Regions from separate parts of the Homo sapiens genome. Here region 2 is linked to region 1. Evidence: promoter capture Hi-C in human tissues and cell types (Jung and others, 2019). All regions are on one chromosome and are shown on one strand. The core of a region is centred on a gene start or on the middle of the fragment in contact, and the rest is flanking DNA. Distances in the headings are between cores, read along the strand shown. Region 1 holds the start of TMEFF2 (transmembrane protein with EGF like and two follistatin like domains 2). Region 2 has its middle 580 kb from the start of PCGEM1.

What was found. Contacts are between HindIII fragments. The study calls those that stand out against the background at their distance.
Region 2: a fragment that was not itself captured here is called in contact with the fragment with the promoter of TMEFF2 in region 1 in 1 of the 25 tissues and cell types used here (dorsolateral prefrontal cortex).

Annotation. Positions count from the first base shown.
Region 1 is chr2:192,192,072-192,196,960 of GRCh38, reverse strand. It overlaps TMEFF2 (transmembrane protein with EGF like and two follistatin like domains 2), which reads left to right and starts at 2,028. Exons shown (of 10, transcript NM_016192.4): 1 at 2,028-2,608. The coding sequence starts at 2,437. RefSeq lists an enhancer at 1,507-2,082. The HindIII fragment of the contact is 5,375 bases long and covers 1-3,125 here.
Region 2 is chr2:193,327,701-193,332,589 of GRCh38, reverse strand. No RefSeq gene overlaps it. Among named protein-coding and RNA genes, the nearest start is that of PCGEM1, 580 kb to the right of the region's middle. The HindIII fragment of the contact is 3,612 bases long and covers 474-4,085 here.

The sequences.
Region 1 (4,889 bases), core at 779-3,278:
TGGGTATTCTGTTTCCTTAAAGAATTTAGCTGCTCTGTCTAGAAGCCGATTTTCTGATGCCTCCAACGTCTGGTCTAATTGATCTGTTTTAATGGAGTCTTCGTCGGTGAGGAGCGAGATGCCACCGACTAGAATGCTGGGATCTGCTGCTTAATTGCCAGGAGTGAGAGACACTGAGATTCAGAAATCTTTGGAGGTGGGAGGGGAGAGGGACAGTCTCGGACGGAGGCGGAGATGTAAGATAAAGGGATGGATTTCACACAGGAAAAAAAAAAAGATTTCGTTGAGGCACTGAGGTGCTGCACGATCACATCTCTCAAAGGAGAAGTTAAAAAGCAAGGAAGTGGGAGGAGGTTGGAGGTTAAAGTACTTAAAAGGATTACTCGGGTACAATTTGTTTTTCTGCTGGTGTCTGCAAAGGATAGATAGTCCCGTTTTCAAAGTATATGAATGCCTCTTTTAAGTGATTGGGAATGGACACTAATTGCCTGTTAAATGTTATCAAATGCTCTCCTAAATTCAGGGGACACAGAAAGAGGGGCACAAAAGGAGAATTTAAATAGAAAAAGGGAGGATCCGGAGGCTTTTGAAAGCGGGGGGAGAAGAAGGAGGAGGGATAACAGAGAGGAATAGAGAAGGAGAGCGGAGAGAAGATAAACAAAAACAAAAACAGGAATCACTGAATAATCACACACCAAAAAGAAAGCTCTTCCCTATGGGGCATCCAAAACACTGAGACTGCAATAGTGACCCCGGTCATGGAAGAAAGATGTTCCTCTCCACCCTTGTCCCCGAAAGCTCTTGGTCCCGTTACTGGCGACTAAAATTCCATTAGGCTAAAGAGTGTGTCTAACTGCCTGAAGAATGCAGCAGACGGAAGGCGGGTCCCGCTATGCCGTTTGCCCTTCCCGCTGGAGAGAATGAAAGAAACGCGCAGAGCCAGAGACTCCTGCCGAGTTAGACCTTCTCTCGTCGCCCCAGGTCACCGGCCATCCGGCAAAGACCCGAGTAAGGAACGCAGGGTCACTGCCTGGGCCAACAAATGGAGCCCGCTCTCCCCTTCCCGGACGCCGCTGCCCGGCCGATGCTCCCGGCAACCCACCCGCGGCGTATGCAGAGGAGCCTTTCTCTTTCTCTCAGACCACTTGTCCCGACCAATCTGACCTTCCAAACACATCTGACCGCACCTCCCAGGTGGACACACTAATAGGCTACGGGCTGGAGAGGAGCGGGTGATGAGGAGAGGGATTCAAACCTGCGAACGCTTGGGCTGGGTCGGAGCTGCGGGGGGCCTGGGAGGAGAGAGGGGAGAAGAGAGAAGGAAGGAGAGCGCCTGCCGGGATGGCTGAGCTGCCTCGGCGAGCAGCCTTGGGGTTGCACGCTCTTGTGGGAGATGCTGCTGTTGCTTCCAGGTCGGCAAGAGCGGTTCTAACACCATCGCCTCTCACCCTCTTTCCTGTAAATCCCTAGAGAAACGTCCCTGGCCTCTCCGCCGCGACATTCCCAGCCTGCATCCCCCTACAGCCTAGGCGGCGCGCTCCCGCACGCTGGAGCGCCGGTCGCCAGCAGGACGCCCTCTCCCGCGCCGACTCGCCCCTCTCTGCCCTGCTGCTGCTGCTCCTCTGACACCTCCGCCCCCACCATCTCCAGCTCGGAGAGACGCCACCCAGCCGCGGCCCGCACTCGCGGCCCGGGGTCACGCGCGGAAGAGGGGCGCTAGTCCGGACCCCGCCTTCGGTAGGGGGCGTCCTGGAGCGGAGAGTGAGGCGAATGGTATATGAGTGTGCGGGTAGCCCACCCTGAAGCCCGAGCTTCTCATTTGAGCCATCCCCGCCTAGCCCCACTCGGGCCAGCGCCTGGCGAGCGAGCCCATCTGTGGCTTCCGCGGCCGCCTCCTCCTTGCATCCTTGCACCTCCTCGTCGACCCCTCCCTCCCGGGACCTGCATCCTGCTCCACCAATCAGAGCCCGACTGCCTCTTCCCACGTGACCCCGGGCGGGCTGAGGACCTGCTGCTTCCCAAACGCCAGAGGGATGCGGGCGGCAGAGCTCGAGAGGCGGCTGCCGGGCTGCGGGGCGCCTTGACTCTCCCTCCACCCTGCCTCCTCGGGCTCCACTCGTCTGCCCCTGGACTCCCGTCTCCTCCTGTCCTCCGGCTTCCCAGAGCTCCCTCCTTATGGCAGCAGCTTCCCGCGTCTCCGGCGCAGCTTCTCAGCGGACGACCCTCTCGCTCCGGGGCTGAGCCCAGTCCCTGGATGTTGCTGAAACTCTCGAGATCATGCGCGGGTTTGGCTGCTGCTTCCCCGCCGGGTGCCACTGCCACCGCCGCCGCCTCTGCTGCCGCCGTCCGCGGGATGCTCAGTAGCCCGCTGCCCGGCCCCCGCGATCCTGTGTTCCTCGGAAGCCGTTTGCTGCTGCAGAGTTGCACGAACTAGTCATGGTGCTGTGGGAGTCCCCGCGGCAGTGCAGCAGCTGGACACTTTGCGAGGGCTTTTGCTGGCTGCTGCTGCTGCCCGTCATGCTACTCATCGTAGCCCGCCCGGTGAAGCTCGCTGCTTTCCCTACCTCCTTAAGTGACTGCCAAACGCCCACCGGCTGGAATTGCTCTGGTAAGTCCAGAACCCCCGTCCCCGACCCTTTAACTCCGCAGAAGAACACGCGTATCCAGCACAGACCAGCCTACCCTAGCGCGCCTCCTCAGCCCCTCACCTCCTACTGCCCTAGACCCCTAATACCACCCACCTCTATCCAGAGAAACAAGGGGAACTGTTGCAGGCCCGGGGGTGAGGGGTGGTTCTGGGATGGGCAGAAAGTGCAGGTGTAGCAGGAAACCTTTGCATGCTTGCGCTTACATTGGAGCTGCGAGGATTTTGAGAAATATTAAACGGGATGGTTTTCTGGGTTCACTGTTTTGAAAGAGCACCAATCCTAGGGGAAACACTGAAACAGAAGCTTTGTCATCATTAAAGAAAAAAGTCTTACTAGGATGAGGAAGAAATAACTTTATGAGAAAGAATGAGCGAGAAAGCAATAAATCAAATGGTGACTGCAGGGGAATCGCTGATTCCTGGCAAAGGTGCCATGAGGTCGCACTGGTCTCCCGTTGAAGACCAGGTCACACAGATTCTAGAGGAGCTGGGTTTCAATAGAATTTCTCTCTCTCTCTCTCTCTCTCTCTCTCTCTCTCTCTCTCTCTCTCTATCTATCTATCTCTCTCTCTCTCTCATTCCCTTCTCTCCTAGGCGGCAAAAGACATTGGTTTTGCAGTCCAGATATGCCCCTCTCTTTGCTTCCCTAAGCTTCAAGGTAGTACAGGGGAGTTGAGAAAAAGAACACTTTGCGGGTCTCCCAGGCCGGAGTGGGCATGACTGAGGCTGGTCAGGCTCCATGTAGGCGAGCCGAGGGCGGAACCGACTTCAGTGGGCGCTGACTCCTCCATTTCTGGACAGGCTTCTGTGGAGTGGGTCAGGCACTCTTCTTGCTCGCTCGGGTTCCTTCAGATTCTGACGGCGAACGCTTGGCAGGCTTCGCTCTGCTGAAGCTTCCTAATTAAATAGGGCCAGAGGATGGGAGTTGCTGCACTCCTAGCTGGCATAGCATTTCGGTTTGACAGCCTGTAGTATACTGGGCAGAATTGTGGTGTAATTTCCTTGGCATTTTAAACTCCGTTAACATGCCTGGGTATTGTCCCCTAGGTGTGGTCTGTTCTAGTTTTAGCAAGTGTGTATGTAATTTTTCATCTTCTGTGAATATAATTTTGCTGTAGTTAAATCTGGCTCTGAATAAAGTGTCTTTCAAAGATGTATATAAGCTGAAGTGTATGTAACTTTAGAGAGGAGGGAATGACCAACTGTAACTCAGGGTGAAAGCCTGTATAGTTCCTAGTTATTACTGATGTAAATGCCAAAAGGAAAATTATTATGCATCATTCTAATTTATCCTTTACAAAGACAAGTTGAGATATGCAACCCTATTAGATTTGGGTCAATAGATTGTTCTCTTTTTTGGCAGTTTCTAAATTTGGCATTTTAATAAAACTCAACATGTTTCTATAACTTCTTGATTCATGCGTACATGTGTGTTGTTTTTGAAAGAATAAGTTTCACTTTGCTATTGCCTAATCACTTTTTAGATGCTTTATTATGGTAATAATTATGAGCCTGCAAAAACAATTTTTGGAAATGTTGATGGCTTTGTAGTCCAACACAGACTGGTTTGCTTCATTCCTAGCCCTTGCATTGTTTTAGGAAATAACTAACTTAAATGTGAAGTTGACATTTGCAATCAAGAAATTACATATTTACCAGATATTTTAAAGGGGACTGCATAAACTAAAGAGAATAAACTGGTTTTGCAGATAGGTTGTCAAGAACTTGGCACCCCGCTTCCACCCCTGTTAACTTAGAGGTGATCAATCTTCATTTGAGCCAAACAGACCATCACAGAAAACACTGTGCCTGTTTATCTTTATTATTGAGGCTTTGTTTCCTCTTTGTCTGGATACATTTCAAATAAGGGGTTGTTTCAGTCGTTGAAGCAAAAGAACAATTAAAGATGGGGAAATGGTAAAAGGGTATTCAGAGATCATCACTAGCTCTTTTCCAAAATGTGGAGTTTTGTGGTCATAAATATTGTCCACCTAATGAGCAAAAAATAAAAATAAAAAAAAAACAGGAAGCAAATGTTAAGCTTTCATTCACCACTGTCAGTATTAACGCAAGCTTTAAAAAATAGCACTATCAGAAAAGGATACTAAAGGAGAATTGACTAGAAAAGAATTGTGGAAAATGGAAACGAATATTGATCACTTAACTAGATTTTGAGGTTATCAGTAGACAGTGACCTTGCAGTACAGCTATAGTTGTTGGATTTAAAATTTAGGACAAGTAT
Region 2 (4,889 bases), core at 1,030-3,529, 1.1 Mb before region 1:
CCCGCAGTTCTTACAACCACTTGACCTTATTTATTTATTTGCTCAGGTGTTTATTGTCTTTCTTACCCAATAAAATGCAAAGTTCTTGAGGTTAAGGACTATTTTACTTTCAGATCCATGTATATTACATAATAGGTACTCAGATAATATTTCATGAATTAATGGATTAATCCATCTGAAGTTCTGTCTTTACATGATCAAACTCCACTTGCAAATAAAAAGTCTGTCAGAAAGCCAGGAAGCTTCTGCTGGCATTGGCTTCTGTACCATGCTTCTTTGACAGTGATTAGATTCCTGAAATAAACATTGACTTAGAAATATTCTTAGTGTCAGAAAATGAAAAAAAAAGATAATTTTTAACTAGTGCAGAAGGATAACATATTTTTCACAGAGTAAAAAATAAATTGGTGTTTAAAATATAATTTTTAGCATTCTCTTTGATATTGCTTTGTCATTTGTAATGGACAACTTAAACTCTTTAATAGGTATTTTATGGTTTACCTATAACATTTTAATGAAATGCAAGAATGTTATGACTGTAATAAGTGGAAAAATAGTAAAGTTCCATTTACAGAACAAAAGGTTTTTGATGTGATGTCAAAGGCTCTTTAAATATATAATTCATCCCATCTGTTAGTCTCACCACATAGCCAGCTGTGAGGTTTATAAGTTAAAAAAAAAAAAAAAAAGGAAAGAACGAAAGCTTGGCAATTCCTAGCTCTGTTTTGATTAGCATAAACTTCTGCTTTCTTGTCAGGAAATCCCTCTCTGTAGATTAAAATATCTTGCAAGTTGCCATTTCCTCTTCTCTCATGATGTTTTATGATTAAGAAATGAAAAAATATAAGCAAGATACCACATATTGGCTGAACGAAATTTTCTATGCAACGTCCAATAGTGCACGTTGCCACAGTTTATTAGATGGTGGCACACCTTAAATATAAAGATGTCATCGATTCCAAATTTCAAACTGTGTTGAAAAGTGAAATTCCAAGGGAGAACATATACAGGAGATTTGTGCCAGAACTACTTCCCAAAAGCAATATCAAAAAGAAATGAAAAAATAATTTTTCTAATTGGAAATATGTGGGGAATATAAGGTAGGAAGAATTTAATTAATAGATTTGGAGTAAGGCCAGAACTGCAGAGTTAATACCTTTGGTTTTTCAAAGAGTGCCGTGGGATCTTGAATGCCTATGGTGGTCAGTAGAACTGGCAAGTTTTACTCCGGATTAATCATAAAGCAGCTTTACAAATTTATCTGGGGCCGGGCGCAGTGGCTCACGCCTGTAATCCCAGCACTTTGGGAGGCTGAGGCGGGCAGATCACTTGAGGTCAGGAGTTCGAGACCGGCCTCAACATGGAGAAACCCCAGGTCTACTAAAAATACAAAATTAACCGGGCATGGTGGTGCATGCCTGTAATCCCAGCTACTCGGGAGGCTGAGGCAGGAGAATTGCTTGAACCTGGGAGGTGGAGGTTGCAGTGAGCCGAGATCGCGCCATTGCACTCCAGCCTGGGCAACAAGAGCGAAACTCCATCTCAAAAAAAAAAAAATTATTTCGAGATAACGTTTTATGCAGAGTATGTCGTGTGTGATTTTCATGTTTTTTTTTTTTTTTTGGGGGCAAAAGACATACTTCAGCACAATATGACAATTTTGAGGGTCTTTCTTAGGAGAAATTATCAGCATCCAATAAAGCTATTTCAAAATATTAAATATGCTAACATTTACAAAGCACAGAAAGTGAAATTTCTTACTGTATTTTTAAATAAGCACATTCATTTTAATACTTCTGATTCTTGTGTGTGTGTATGTGTGTGTGTACATGTGTGTGTATGTTTTCCCCTTCATTTTTTTAAACTTTTATTTTAAGTTCAGGGGTAAAAGTGCAGGTTTGTTACATACATAAACTTGTGTCATGGGGGGTTGTTGTACAGATTATTTCATCACCCAAGTATTAAGCCTAGTACCAATTAGTTATTTTTCCTGATCCTCCCCCTCCTCCCACCCTCCAGTCTCCAGTAGTCCCCAGTGTGTGTTATCCCCCTCTATGCCTCCATGTGTTTTTATCATTTAGCTCCCACTTAGTGAGAACACGCGGTATTTGGTTTTCTGTTCCTGTGTTGGTTTGCTAAAGATAATGGTCTCCAGCTCATCCATGTCCCCGCAAAGAACATGATATCCTTCTTTTTTATGGCTCCCTAGTATTCTACCATGTATGTGTACTACATTTTTTTTCTAGTCTATCACTGATAGACATTGAGATTGATTTCATGTATTTGCTTTTGTGAATAGTGCTGCAATGAACTTATGCACACATGTGTCTATATAATACAACAATTTATATTCCTTTGGGTATATATCTAGTAATGGGATTGCTGTGTCAAATGGTATTTATGTCTTTAGCTCTTTGAGGAATTGCCACACTGTCTTCCACAATGGTTGAACTAATTTACATTCCCACTAATTCACAATCCAAGCTGATTCCTAACAAAGCTATGGCAGAATGTAGTTAACTACCAACTCTCCACCATGCATAGTAATGTAATTCATTCATATTTAATAAAAAGCTTTTAAAGTAATTGAACACCTATAGGAACCATAATAATTGGTGGCCTAGTATCTCATGATACTAGTTTCCCCTTGGTGAAACTGACAGTGACTGTGCTTATATCATCCCATCACTCTTCCTGCCTCTGTTGAAATGGCTGATTAACTCCATGGATAGCCACCTTAGGGAGTGGTTATCCAGCCACATCTTTGGAGTTTTCTTTAAAACACATATTTCATTTTTTTGCAGTATGGATAACTGAGATTTTCCCAAATCTTTTAGTTCTGGTTTCCTTATGGTTAACAATTTATTTAATTTATTTTTCTTATCCTATACTTTACTATAAGCAATAAAGAGAAATCAGGCGATATCTTTAACTCTTTGCTTAGAAATTTCATTAGCTAAATATATAACTTCTTTGCTTTTAAGTTCTACTTTCCACAAAACACTATAACATAGTTCAGCCAAGTTCTTTGCCACTTTATAACACGGGTCATCTTTCCTTCAGTTTCTCATAGCACGTCTCTTATTTCCTTTTGAAATCTCATCAGAATCACCTTTAACATTCACATTTCTACCAATAATCTCTTCAAGGGAATCTAACCATATTTTAGAATGCACTTCAAAATTTTCCAATCTATACCCATCACCCACCCAAACCCAAAGCCACATTTTTAGGTGCTTGTTACAGCAGCATCCCACTCCTAGTACCAAAATCTGTCTCAGTCTGCTTGGATTGCTATTATATAATACCACAGATTGAGAAGGGGAAACCACACCAATTTATTCTCTCTGAGTTCCAGAGGCTAGAAGTCCAAGATCAAGGTACTAGCATGGTTAGTTTCTGGTGAGGTTTCTTCCTGGCAGACAGACAGCTGCCTTCTTGCTGTGTCCTCATGTGGCCTTTCCTCTGTGCACAGGTGAAGAAAGAGAGCTCTGATGTCTCTTTCTTTTTTTATAAGGACGCATGTCCTATTGGATTAGGATTCACCCTTACGATTTCCTTTAACCTTAGTAACCTGCCTAAAGGCCCTGTCTCCAAATACAGCCACTTGTGGGTTAATGCTTCACATATCAATTTTGGGAGGACAAAATTGGTCTACAACAAAACTGTATGTGTACATTATATATCTACCTAAATTGTTTCTCTTTGCAATAAAAATATGAACAATATTAGAATGTCTTTTTGAAGGGCAATCTAACATATTTGGAGAAATATTCAAAATGGTTTCATAAAAGAGTTTTCAGAATGAGTAATGTCATTAGACCATTTTTACTTACAATAATTTATTGTATGTATTGTATTAATATTGTGCATGCATACACACACACCCCTTAACATACGATATCCAACTTCCCCTAAATTCTTCGTATTACTATTTTGGTTACATCAAAATGGAATGATAAAAATGAATTAAGATGTGGCATATGGGTCAGAAAACTGAAATATGATTCACCGTGAATAAAATTGTAGTTGTTAAAACTATTAATGTTTTTTATATCATTATTTACCATTTGTTTCTTATACCTGTCACAAACTTAATCACTTAAGTTGCCTGTAATTCTATCAATACAACAGCTAAACCATAAAGTGCACTTAAATGTTTAGTGTCAGATCAAATCTCCAATATTACACTTTGTCACCATATCTAACTACTAAAATATAAATTATTTTGTTTCAGTGTGCTGGCTTGACTGCTATTGTGAGTGCAATAAATAATATTCCCTGGCACTATAACAAAAAAGATTATTGAAAAGAGATAGTTCTGTGTGATAAAGATGTGTGAAATCTGTGGGAAGGAGAGGTTTAGTTTAGAGACCATTTCTGCCACTGAATATTGTACAAACAAAGGAATATTTTTACAAACGAAGCAATACTTTTACAAACAAAGGAAAAATTTTTCAATTTTATTCTGAATAGACAAAGATTGCTCTCCTCATATTGGTTTGTTCAATTCATATGTATTGATTTAGATAAAAATAGTTTGTATTATTTTATACAATTAGAAAATAGCCTATGTGCCCCAGTTTTTTCTAATTTATACAGCCTCACTCCAACTTATAGACTAACTAATACATGTTCTTGGTTTGAAATAAGCAAGCTAAGAATTAATTGATTATAAAAGTATAGATTAGGATAGTTAAAAAAAGTTAATGAAAAAAAAAAACAGCAAATGATTTAGTGGAACATGTGCCACTAAGGAAACATCCTATTTTTTGTAAAAAATAAGACTGCATTTATCATGATTTATTTCACCATCACTAAGACACCATAGGAATTTCTAACCTCTTCTCTATGTGCAATATAAATTATTACTCCTTTGTTTTATATTT